Regions from separate parts of the Homo sapiens genome. Here region 2 is linked to region 1. Evidence: promoter capture Hi-C in human tissues and cell types (Jung and others, 2019). All regions are on one chromosome and are shown on one strand. The core of a region is centred on a gene start or on the middle of the fragment in contact, and the rest is flanking DNA. Distances in the headings are between cores, read along the strand shown.

Region 1 (3,341 bases), core at 14-2,513:
AGGTGGCTCTGGGCCTTGCATAGGAAAGGGTTGGGGGTCTCGCTGGGGCCTGGCAACACTGGCCTGAGTATGACCAGAACAGTCACCAGAGGCCTCCTGGGAGGGCGGGTGCAGCCCCAGCCCCCGCCGTGAGTGGGGGTCGGGGGGCAGGTGTGAAAGTGTGGTGGGCAGCAGCTGGGTCTATGCGGCTCAGCAGTGGGAAGAGAACGGGCCAGGCTTCCAGGTGAGCTCAGGGACGGTTTTCACTGCAGCTAACCCTCTCCTGCCCACCTGCGCTCCCCGTGGCAACCAGCGGCCCTGCAGCGTGCGACTCCTCTTTATTCTTCCAAACTCTGTGAGCCTGCACGCTCCCATCCAGGACGGAACAGCAGGGGAGAGTGGCTGAAGGATGACAGGGGGCTTTTAGGGCCAGCCGGGTGGATGAGCTGGGTTTGCTGGGGTTGAGGGCTCAGTCGGGGGTTGGGGGGTGTCGAAGTCTGGGCCCCATCCAGCTGTCCTTTTTGTCCCGCCCAGGTGTCCCTGGGGTTCCTGTTCTGCCCCTGGCTTCTCTGGGGTTAAGTCCTCCTCCCTGTTCCCTCACTGTGGGGTTTGGCAGTGTGGCACAGTGTGGAGCTTGGACCGGCAGCCAGGGTCACAGCAGACCTCAGGAACTCCGATTCCAGTGCCAACACTGAGTACTCCTCTTTTGGGGGCATCAGAGCCTCTCCCTTGGCTACCTGGGGAGGCTGGTATGGAGGGAGGTGGAGGGAGATGGGGGAAGGGGGAGCGGGAGGTGAGGGCAGCTCGGGCCCTTCTTTTTGCTCTGATCTTCCTGGCCTGAGGACAAGAGCTGCTCCCAGACCTGCAGAGGCCCCTTGGGGCAGAGGGATGTTTCAGAGAACAGCCGGGTGACCTGCCTCCCTGCTCTGCGTGACGCAGCCCTAGGCCCCTGTGAGGCTAGAGTCACCCCCGCAAGGTGGGAGGTCACGGCCCCTGCCTGCACAGGCAGCACAGCTCACATGTCCTTCCTTGAGCCTTCTCTGCTTCCGGAGGCTGCCCTGGGCGCCTGACCTTGGAGCCATCATCTCCAGCTCCCCAACCCCTCCCCCACAGCCCTGGGGCAGACACCAGCCTGGGGAGGGGTCTCCATGCTCAGTTCCTTCCCGTCTTGTTCAGAGAGACGTGGCCTGCCCACGTGCAGTCAGCGGCATCCGCAACCCTGCCAGGGGCCCCGTGACACGCCCCCGCTGCACAGAGCATGTGACCCCAGAGGCCACCCTGGCCACTTCCAGAAAGCTGTGGGCCCTGGGATACTCCCCTCCCAGGGTGTCTGGTGGCAGGCCTGTGCCTATCCCTGCTGTCCCCAGGGTGGGCCCCGGGGGTCAGGAGCTCCAGAAGGGCCAGCTGGGCATATTCTGAGATTGGCCATCAGCCCCCATTTCTGCTGCAAACCTGGTCAGAGCCAGTGTTCCCTCCATGGGACCTAAAGACAGTGCCAAGTGCCTGCACCGTGGACCACAGCCGAGCCACTGGGCAGCCGGTGATGGTCCCACGCAGGAGCGCTGTGGACCCCGCTCTCTGGGCAGCCCTGTCCTAGGCCTGGACACCTGCAGAGCCTGGGACCACGTGGATGGGCAGATCCTGGGCCAGCTGCGGCCCCTGACAGAGGAGGAAGAGGAGGAGGGCGCCGGGGCCACCTTGTCCAGGGGGCCTGCCTTCCCCGGCATGGGCTCTGAGGAGTTGCGTCTGGCCTCCTTCTATGACTGGCCGCTGACTGCTGAGGTGCCACCCGAGCTGCTGGCTGCTGCCGGCTTCTTCCACACAGGTCAGTCCCGGGCGGGGGGGCCTTCCTGCCGTGGGCCTGGGCACGATTCTGGACCCTTCCAGCCCAGGGCTCTGCCTCCTCCGTAGCATCCATCCCCCAACAGGAAGGGTCTGGCCTGATGACGGAGCAGTGGTCCTGCAAGCCCCTCCAGTGCCCATGGGCTCGTGCCTGACACCCTCCCCCGGAGTCTCTGCTGGCTGAGTGTTTCAGACCGTGGGATGTGAGGAGGGGCTGCCTCTGGCCACAGTCTGAGGGTCTCAGCTGTGGAGGCCGCCAGCTTGGTGCACAAGTACCCCTTTGTGATAGAAGTGGGTGGGGCTGACATTGCCTGGGGCCCTCACCTTCCCCGCTGCTGTTCTGCACAGGGAGAGGAGATGTTTAAAGAACAGGATCAGGGTGACCAAGGCAGGCAGTGGTCAGCCAGAAGGTCCTGGATGCTCAGCCTGTGGGGAATTTCTCCAGGCCCCAACCTGCAGCTACTGTCTGGTCTTCCCCAACTGAATCAAGTCCCCGGAGTACCTATCCTAGTCTTGGCCCGGGCCTGCTCCTCTGCCCTACAGCTGCAGACCATGTGGTCAGACCTGAGTTCAGGTCCCAGCTCTGCCACTTCCTGGCTGAAGGACAGGGCAGCAGGGCCCACCGAGGGCTTTACAAATACTGGCACAGCCATGGTCATTGTCAGCAGTGGGCTCTGGCGGGGCACCATCCTGGTAAGGCTGGACCAACTTAAGACAGCTGGTCGGGGGGACAGTGGCTGGGACAGTCAGAAGCCGTGGCGTGAAGGGGCAGGCCCAGCTCACCCACCTCCCTGGAAGTCCAAGGCTCAGGAGGCAAAGGCCAGGCAAGAGGCATGGCAGGTGCAGAGCCGGGGTCTTTGGGGCTGGTAGAGGTCCAGTGCCCGATGCAGCCCAAACCTGTGATGTCAGTGGCAGGTGACGTATCGCATGGATGCCGATGAGGGGACGGGGTCGCCAGGAGGTAGAGAGATGACGGGTCCCCCACCCCCAAAGGGAGGCATGAGTTCCTAAAAGCAAGCCTGGCCCCAGACTGGCCTTCTAGGGCAGCCTCCCTTCTTCTTCTCACTGGGAATCCATCTTGGGGAAGCAGAGACCTGGGGAGGGGCCCTTCTGGCTCCTGAAGCCCCAGGGCTATAGATGTACCAAGCCCTGGGGGGCCCCCACTGCTCACTCTGGGAACAATGCAAATGCCAGCTCAGTCCTTTCCTGAACATTCTCGCCCATCCTGGCCGGCACCCCAGTCACCCTTGTCCCCTTTTCACCTTTGATGCTAATGAGGTACAAGTGACATCCCCCACCAAGCCCCCTGCCCACCCCCTCCTCCTTCTTGCCACCTGGGAGCTCCCCTCCAGCTGAAGCTCTCATAGCCTTGGAAGGACACACCGGGGGCCCGGGGACTGGGTGGGACTTGGCTGGGGCCAGCATCTCTCCGCACCCCAGGCCATCAGGACAAGGTGAGGTGCTTCTTCTGCTATGGGGGCCTGCAGAGCTGGAAGCGCGGGGACGACCCCTGGACGGAG
Region 2 (5,691 bases), core at 1,451-3,950, 35 kb before region 1:
AGCATCCAGGAAATGCTTATGGCCTAAGATTCTCTATGCTCTTTCTTAATTTCCAAAGTCAAAGAGCCACTCTGCTGAGCCGGCCTGGAGGTCGAAGTGGGGTCAGGTCAGGGGCACCTGCCGCCAGGGCAAGGACAGTCAGTCTGAGGAACTAAGCAATGCTCACAGTGTGGGACGCTCACCACTTTCACTGTTTTAAGCTAAGAAGTGGCCGTTTCTAGGTTTTTTTAAAACCAAAAAATGTATCAACCCAGGACTTGGTCTGACTCTGCTGCCATAAAAGCTACTGCCATCCTAAGAAATCAGTATGTTTCTAAATTTATAGCTGGACAGCAATCTTGCAAAATGCTAACTCTACTTCACTTTCTCAACACTCAACTTGTTTATGACCTTTACAGCAATGGGGCCAAACTCTAAATGATAAAGAAAAGGTGGGTCTGTTCTTCGAAGTCCTGAGAGAACCTTGAGAAAACCGCCCGGGGGCTCTACCAGCACAGGCGCACAACCCTCTCCTCGGCACACTACTTTGTTCTTAAAACTGCACTGACTCGGCCGGGCGCAGTGGCTCACGCCTGTAATCCCAGCACTTTGGGAGGCCAAAGCGGGCGGATCACGAGGTCAGGAGATCGAGACCATCCTGGCTAACACGGTGAAACCCCATCTCTACTAAAAGCACAAAAAATTCGCTGGGCGTGGTGGCAAGGGCCTGTAGTCCCAGCTACCCGGGAGGCTGAGGCAGGAGAATTGTGTGAACCCAGGAGGCAGAGCTTGCAGTGAGCCGAGATCACACCACTACACTCCAGACTGGGCAACAGTGCAAGATTCTGTCTTAAAAAAAAAAAAAACAAAACAAAACTGCACTGACTCTTCATGGGAAACCCAGAGGGAGAAAGCATTAGACACCCAGAGTCTCAGCCTCAAGACACCTAAGACTCCAATCCTGGATGAGCCACTAGCCCAGCCCGTTAAGCACAAGGCCTAGAGCACCTTCGCAGGCAGGGAGAGCCAGCAGCGAAGTCCAGTCTGGGGACCTCCTCAAGGACCACTTCCATTTCTCTACACTGCCCAATAAGCTTAAAAGATATTTGACGCCGGGCACAGTGGCTCATTCCTATAATCCCAGCACTTTGTGAAGCCAAGGTGGGAAGACTGTTTGAGCCCAGGAGTTCAAGACCAGCCTGGGCAACATAGCAAGACACTGATTCTACAAAAAAATACAAAAATTAGCCAGGCGTGGTGGTGCACGCCTGTAGCTACTCAGGAGGCTGAGGCAGGAAGACCGCTTGAGCCCAGGAGGTCAAGGCTACAACAAGCTGTGATTAAGTCACTGCACTCCAGCCCGGCAGACGGAGAAAGACCTGTCTCAAAAACAAAAACAAAAAGCTATTTGAGGCGGGGCACGGTGGCTCACACCTGTAATCCCAGCACTTTGGGAGGCTGAGGTGGGCAGATCACTTGAGGTCAAGAGATCGAGACCAGCCTGGCCAACATGGTGAAACCCTATCTCTACTAAAAATACAAAATTTAGCTGGGTGCAGTGGTGGGCGCCTATGATCCCAGCTACTTGGGAGGCTGAGGCAGGAAAATGGCCTGAACCTCGGAGGTTGAGGTTGCAGTGAGCCAAAATTGCACTACTGCACTCCAGCCTGGCTGACGGTGAGATTGGCTCAAAAAAAAAAAAGCTATTTGAAATTCCACCAAACATTAACAAACCAGGTTCTCATTTGTCACTTTCAATAAAATGAATTAATGTTAACACTGACCCATATGGGCCCAGAGTTCTCCAGCTTGGCTAACAGTTTAGGGGAGGGTTACCAAGTTCCTTCCAATGATGCTCCACCAGCGGCTCTGTTGGACTCGCCTTGGAGCACCCAGTGGTTTGAGGAACACTTGGATCTTGCCTGCAGGCAGATGCCCACAGACCCTGCAGGCCGCTTACCAAGATGCTTAACCCATAACCCGACACACAAAAGCAGTTATCTAGATCAAGTTTTTATAATGCAAGTTGTAGGACACTAGAGTTTTAAAAACACCAACCAGGTCAGGAGTCCGCACACTTTATGAAAACCCAAGTATTACGGTATTTAAGAAGAAAAACTGTGCGCGCACACACACACAGCCAGCTTCCAGTTTAGCCAGCTAAGGACCTAAAGCTTCATTAGCAATTATCCCTGCAACTTTAGCAATTCAGTATTCATTTTATACCTAAAAGTCTGTAATCCGAGCTATTGTCTGTAATCCCAGCTACCTGGAAGGCTAAGGCAGGACAATCACTCGAACCCAGGAGGTGGAGGTTGCAGTGAGCCGAGATTGCGCCACTGCACTCCAGCCTGGGCAACAGAGCAAAACTCCATTTAAAAAAAAAAAAAAGACCTAAAACACAGAATTTCAGTAACTAATTCAGAATTCAGTAACTGGAAATAAATGACATCCACTTCTTTTCTCACAAAAGAGAGGGACTGATACTTTTCCAAAGTTCTACAAGCCCCAAGTTGTTCAGGACTTGCATAATGTAAGACTGCAGACAGTGCAGGCGGCTCTACTCTATACATCCCTATATATGCCATGTACACGCCTTTCTGCCCAAAATACATTAGGACACTTGGTGCTCACAGGTGAATAATTCCTTTAACATAGAGAACTGAAAAAAACACTGAAAACCCATCTATTATCAACTGACATTTCAGGAAGGGATATTTTTTAAAAAGCAGGAGAGAATCTCAGGATGAACTCTCTCGAATAAAGGAAGCATTATGAAGTATGTCAGCATCATCATTTTCCCATTGCTGGTGCCAGTTTACGGGCATCTGAGCCCTTCTGAAGAGCAAACACACTCAATCCCGTCAGACATCACATGACAGCACAGACTCAGGAGTTTGGCTACAAGTATCCCAGGAAATCAGGACTGTCTCAAAAAGGCCCAGTCAATGAATTTTTGATATAGGATCCATATTTGTCATTATAAAATGTCTGGATTCCAAACCTACCCCACCACCACCATTTTCTTTACGACCTAGATGGAGTGAGTTTGTTTCCAAAAACTGCAGGATACTGGGTTTTTAAAAGAAAAATAAAGCAACGACCTCCAGATCAAAGACCAGAGATTCCCAACTACTGAGGGACAGTGCCCTGGGAAGCAAGGGCCCTTGGCCAGGTGGGGTCTCGATGCCCTACGTGCCCACCGCAGTGCTTCGTGAATATCACCTAAGTGTTCCTCATGGACGGAGGCTGGGAAGCACTGTTCCAGAAAGTATCACAATTCAAAAAGGAGAGGAGAAAGTTACCCTCAAATTCTTTGTAACAGAAAAACAGAATGTGTACACTGTGGTCCCAATTATTCAATTATAATTGGAAAGTGATCAAAGTCGTTCGGTGACATCTACCCAAATACCATCACTGGTTACTAGCAGTACTCTCCGCAGGGAAAGCCCACGAGGCTGCCAGGACCTGGGCCCGCCCACCTGCGGCCAACTGGGAGCTGCCTGTCACGAGACTCAGCTCGGCGGACCTGCCGCATCTGCTCACCACCGGGCCACCTGGTCTAAGTACGGCACCAAGGACACATCTGCATGGCAGTTGCCTGCAACACCCAGCCTCACCTTGCGCACCACCTCCTCCTCCTCCTGGCGCTTCTCGTAGTGAGCAAAGTCGTCGAAGATGGAGGTTGTGTGCTTGTAGGAACTGATAATTTTCAGCACTTGCTTGGCTTTTTCTAAGGGCACCTCCTGGGTGTCCCGGGAGTTTGTGACCGGTTTGTTGTCGTTATTCTCCAGCCTGATGTGCCGGAGCTGGTTATTGGGTACATCCTTAACAAAAATCCACTGGACATCAAACTTCCCCTTCCACTTGTCCTGAGACCAGACCCCGGCACTGGTGCCGTAGTCCACGGGGGACTTCATCTCGGCCACCCCACAAAAATGCCCACTCCCATTGACGCTGAAGAGCAGGTAGACGGGCCCCTTGCTGCTCATGCAGCGGAAGGCGCTGTCCAGGCGCTTGTTGCCGTGCTCTGTGCTACACCAGATGGAGTACTTAATGGAGCGGTGGATGTCGTCCTCAGAGTAGCTCTTGATGATGAACACACGCCCGCTTTTCAGATTCCACTCAAACTCTTTCGGGTTGTAGCTGTGAGCAGCCTTCAGTTTTTCAAGGACGGGGTGGGATTCGACGCTGGGGGCAGAATTAGGCTGGACGTTTCCAGGAGAGTTGCTATCGCTGCCAGCCCCTCCGCTCTGCCCAAACGCCGCGTTTCTGTTGCGTGGGGCAACCCAGCGGGTCTGGGGTGGCTGCTGAGGGCTCTGATACTGCGGTTGAGCCAAAGCTGGGGGCTGTGCTGGGAGAGGCTGAGCCACCTGCTGGGGCTGTGGGGCAGCCTGTGGAGAGGGTGCCTGCTGGGGGACTGGGGCCTTCGGCACAGGCCCCTTGTTATCCCAGGTGCCAATGTCCATGTTATGCTTTATGGGTGGAGGGGGCAGCCCACCCCCCATGACAGGCCCGCTCTTTGTTTTCATTTTAGGCTGTGGTTTTGCAGGCTTGCTGGCAATGGCAGCCCACGAGGTCGGCTTTGAAACTGGCATGTTCACATTTGTCCCACCGTTGCCAGAAAGGACACCAGTCAGTGCCACGCTGCTGACGACAGAGCCCACCGTCTTGACGGCGGAGGAGCTGACGTCCCCAATCTTCAGGCCAACCATGCCCTGCTCCAGGCTGTTCATCCCGGGGGCCTTGCTGAGGGTGTCGCTGTGAAAGCCTGGCTGCCCATCAACCACCGTGCCACCCAGGGAGCTCGGGGGGTAGGTGTAGCTGCTCCCATACGCGGAGCTCTGGGTCTGCTGACCTTGAGACCCACTTGTCCCCCATGCTGAGAACGCAGGGTTTTCAGGGAAAAAATTGAACCTGTGCTGATAGATGTTGTTCCCCAGGCCCCCAGGCTGCCCAAAAACAGCATCGTGCATAAAATGATGGTCTCCGTTACTGAGCTGTCCGTAGGTGGTGAGGTATGGAATCGGAGGGTCCCCTGCAGTAGACCACGGAGCCTCATTGAGGGAGTAAGGAAATCCAATGGACGGCGGGTAATAGCTGGACAGGTAGGGGTCGCTCATTGAGGGGTAACTGTTACTCTGCAAAAGCAAACGTGACAAGTTACACCACTTCTACAACACGAGATGCTGAGAATGCCAACCGCCTCTTGCTTAAGCACAGGTGGAGCAAAAACAAAACCTGCACAGCATGGGGCTACTCCTTCCAGAAAGAAAGCTGTAGTCGCCAATGTGAGAACCAAATCAAGACAGAGAAATTAATAACGAACACAAACCAGGGTGCCGTCTCAAAATACGAAGCATCATTGGCAAGGCTCTGAATTCAGGCTAAATGACGAAGCTATGCCTCTCTAGAACTGGCAAGGTAGCAGCCCCCTCTACTCTTACCTGCAAAGGAATCCAGAGGTAGAGGAGTAAACCCCTGCCTGCTGACGACAACGCTTATGACAGACACGGACGGCATCATGGGAACTGAAACAGCTTTGTAAGGCAGAGATATTTCCATTGGCAAACCAGGATGTGCAGGGCCGTGAGGCAGTTTGCTCCAGAGAACAGACCCCAAGCTCGCTGATTACTCAGCAGGCCCTGGGCGCCCACCTCTGGGCCTTGACATTCCTCCTGGGACACTCTCCCATACCTGGACCAAAGCTCT

Evidence for each region. The method cuts DNA at HindIII sites, captures the fragments that hold promoters and counts their contacts. A contact is called where the count stands out against the background at its distance.
Region 2: a fragment that was not itself captured here is called in contact with the fragment with the promoter of BIRC7 in region 1 in 2 of the 25 tissues and cell types used here (H1 embryonic stem cells and ovary).

Annotation. Positions count from the first base shown.
Region 1 is chr20:63,234,642-63,237,982 of GRCh38, forward strand. BIRC7 (baculoviral IAP repeat containing 7) reads left to right here and starts at 1,264. Exons shown (of 7, transcript NM_139317.3): 1 at 1,264-1,804; 2 at 3,262-3,341. The coding sequence starts at 1,456. RefSeq lists enhancers at 80-681, 1,029-1,148. The HindIII fragment of the contact is 26,367 bases long and covers 1-3,341 here.
Region 2 is chr20:63,198,688-63,204,378 of GRCh38, forward strand. YTHDF1 (YTH N6-methyladenosine RNA binding protein F1) reads right to left here. Exons shown (of 5, transcript NM_017798.4): 4 at 3,600-5,120. Among named protein-coding and RNA genes, the nearest start is that of YTHDF1, 15 kb to the right of the region's middle. RefSeq lists enhancers at 634-1,233, 1,234-1,835. The HindIII fragment of the contact is 5,570 bases long and covers 1-5,485 here.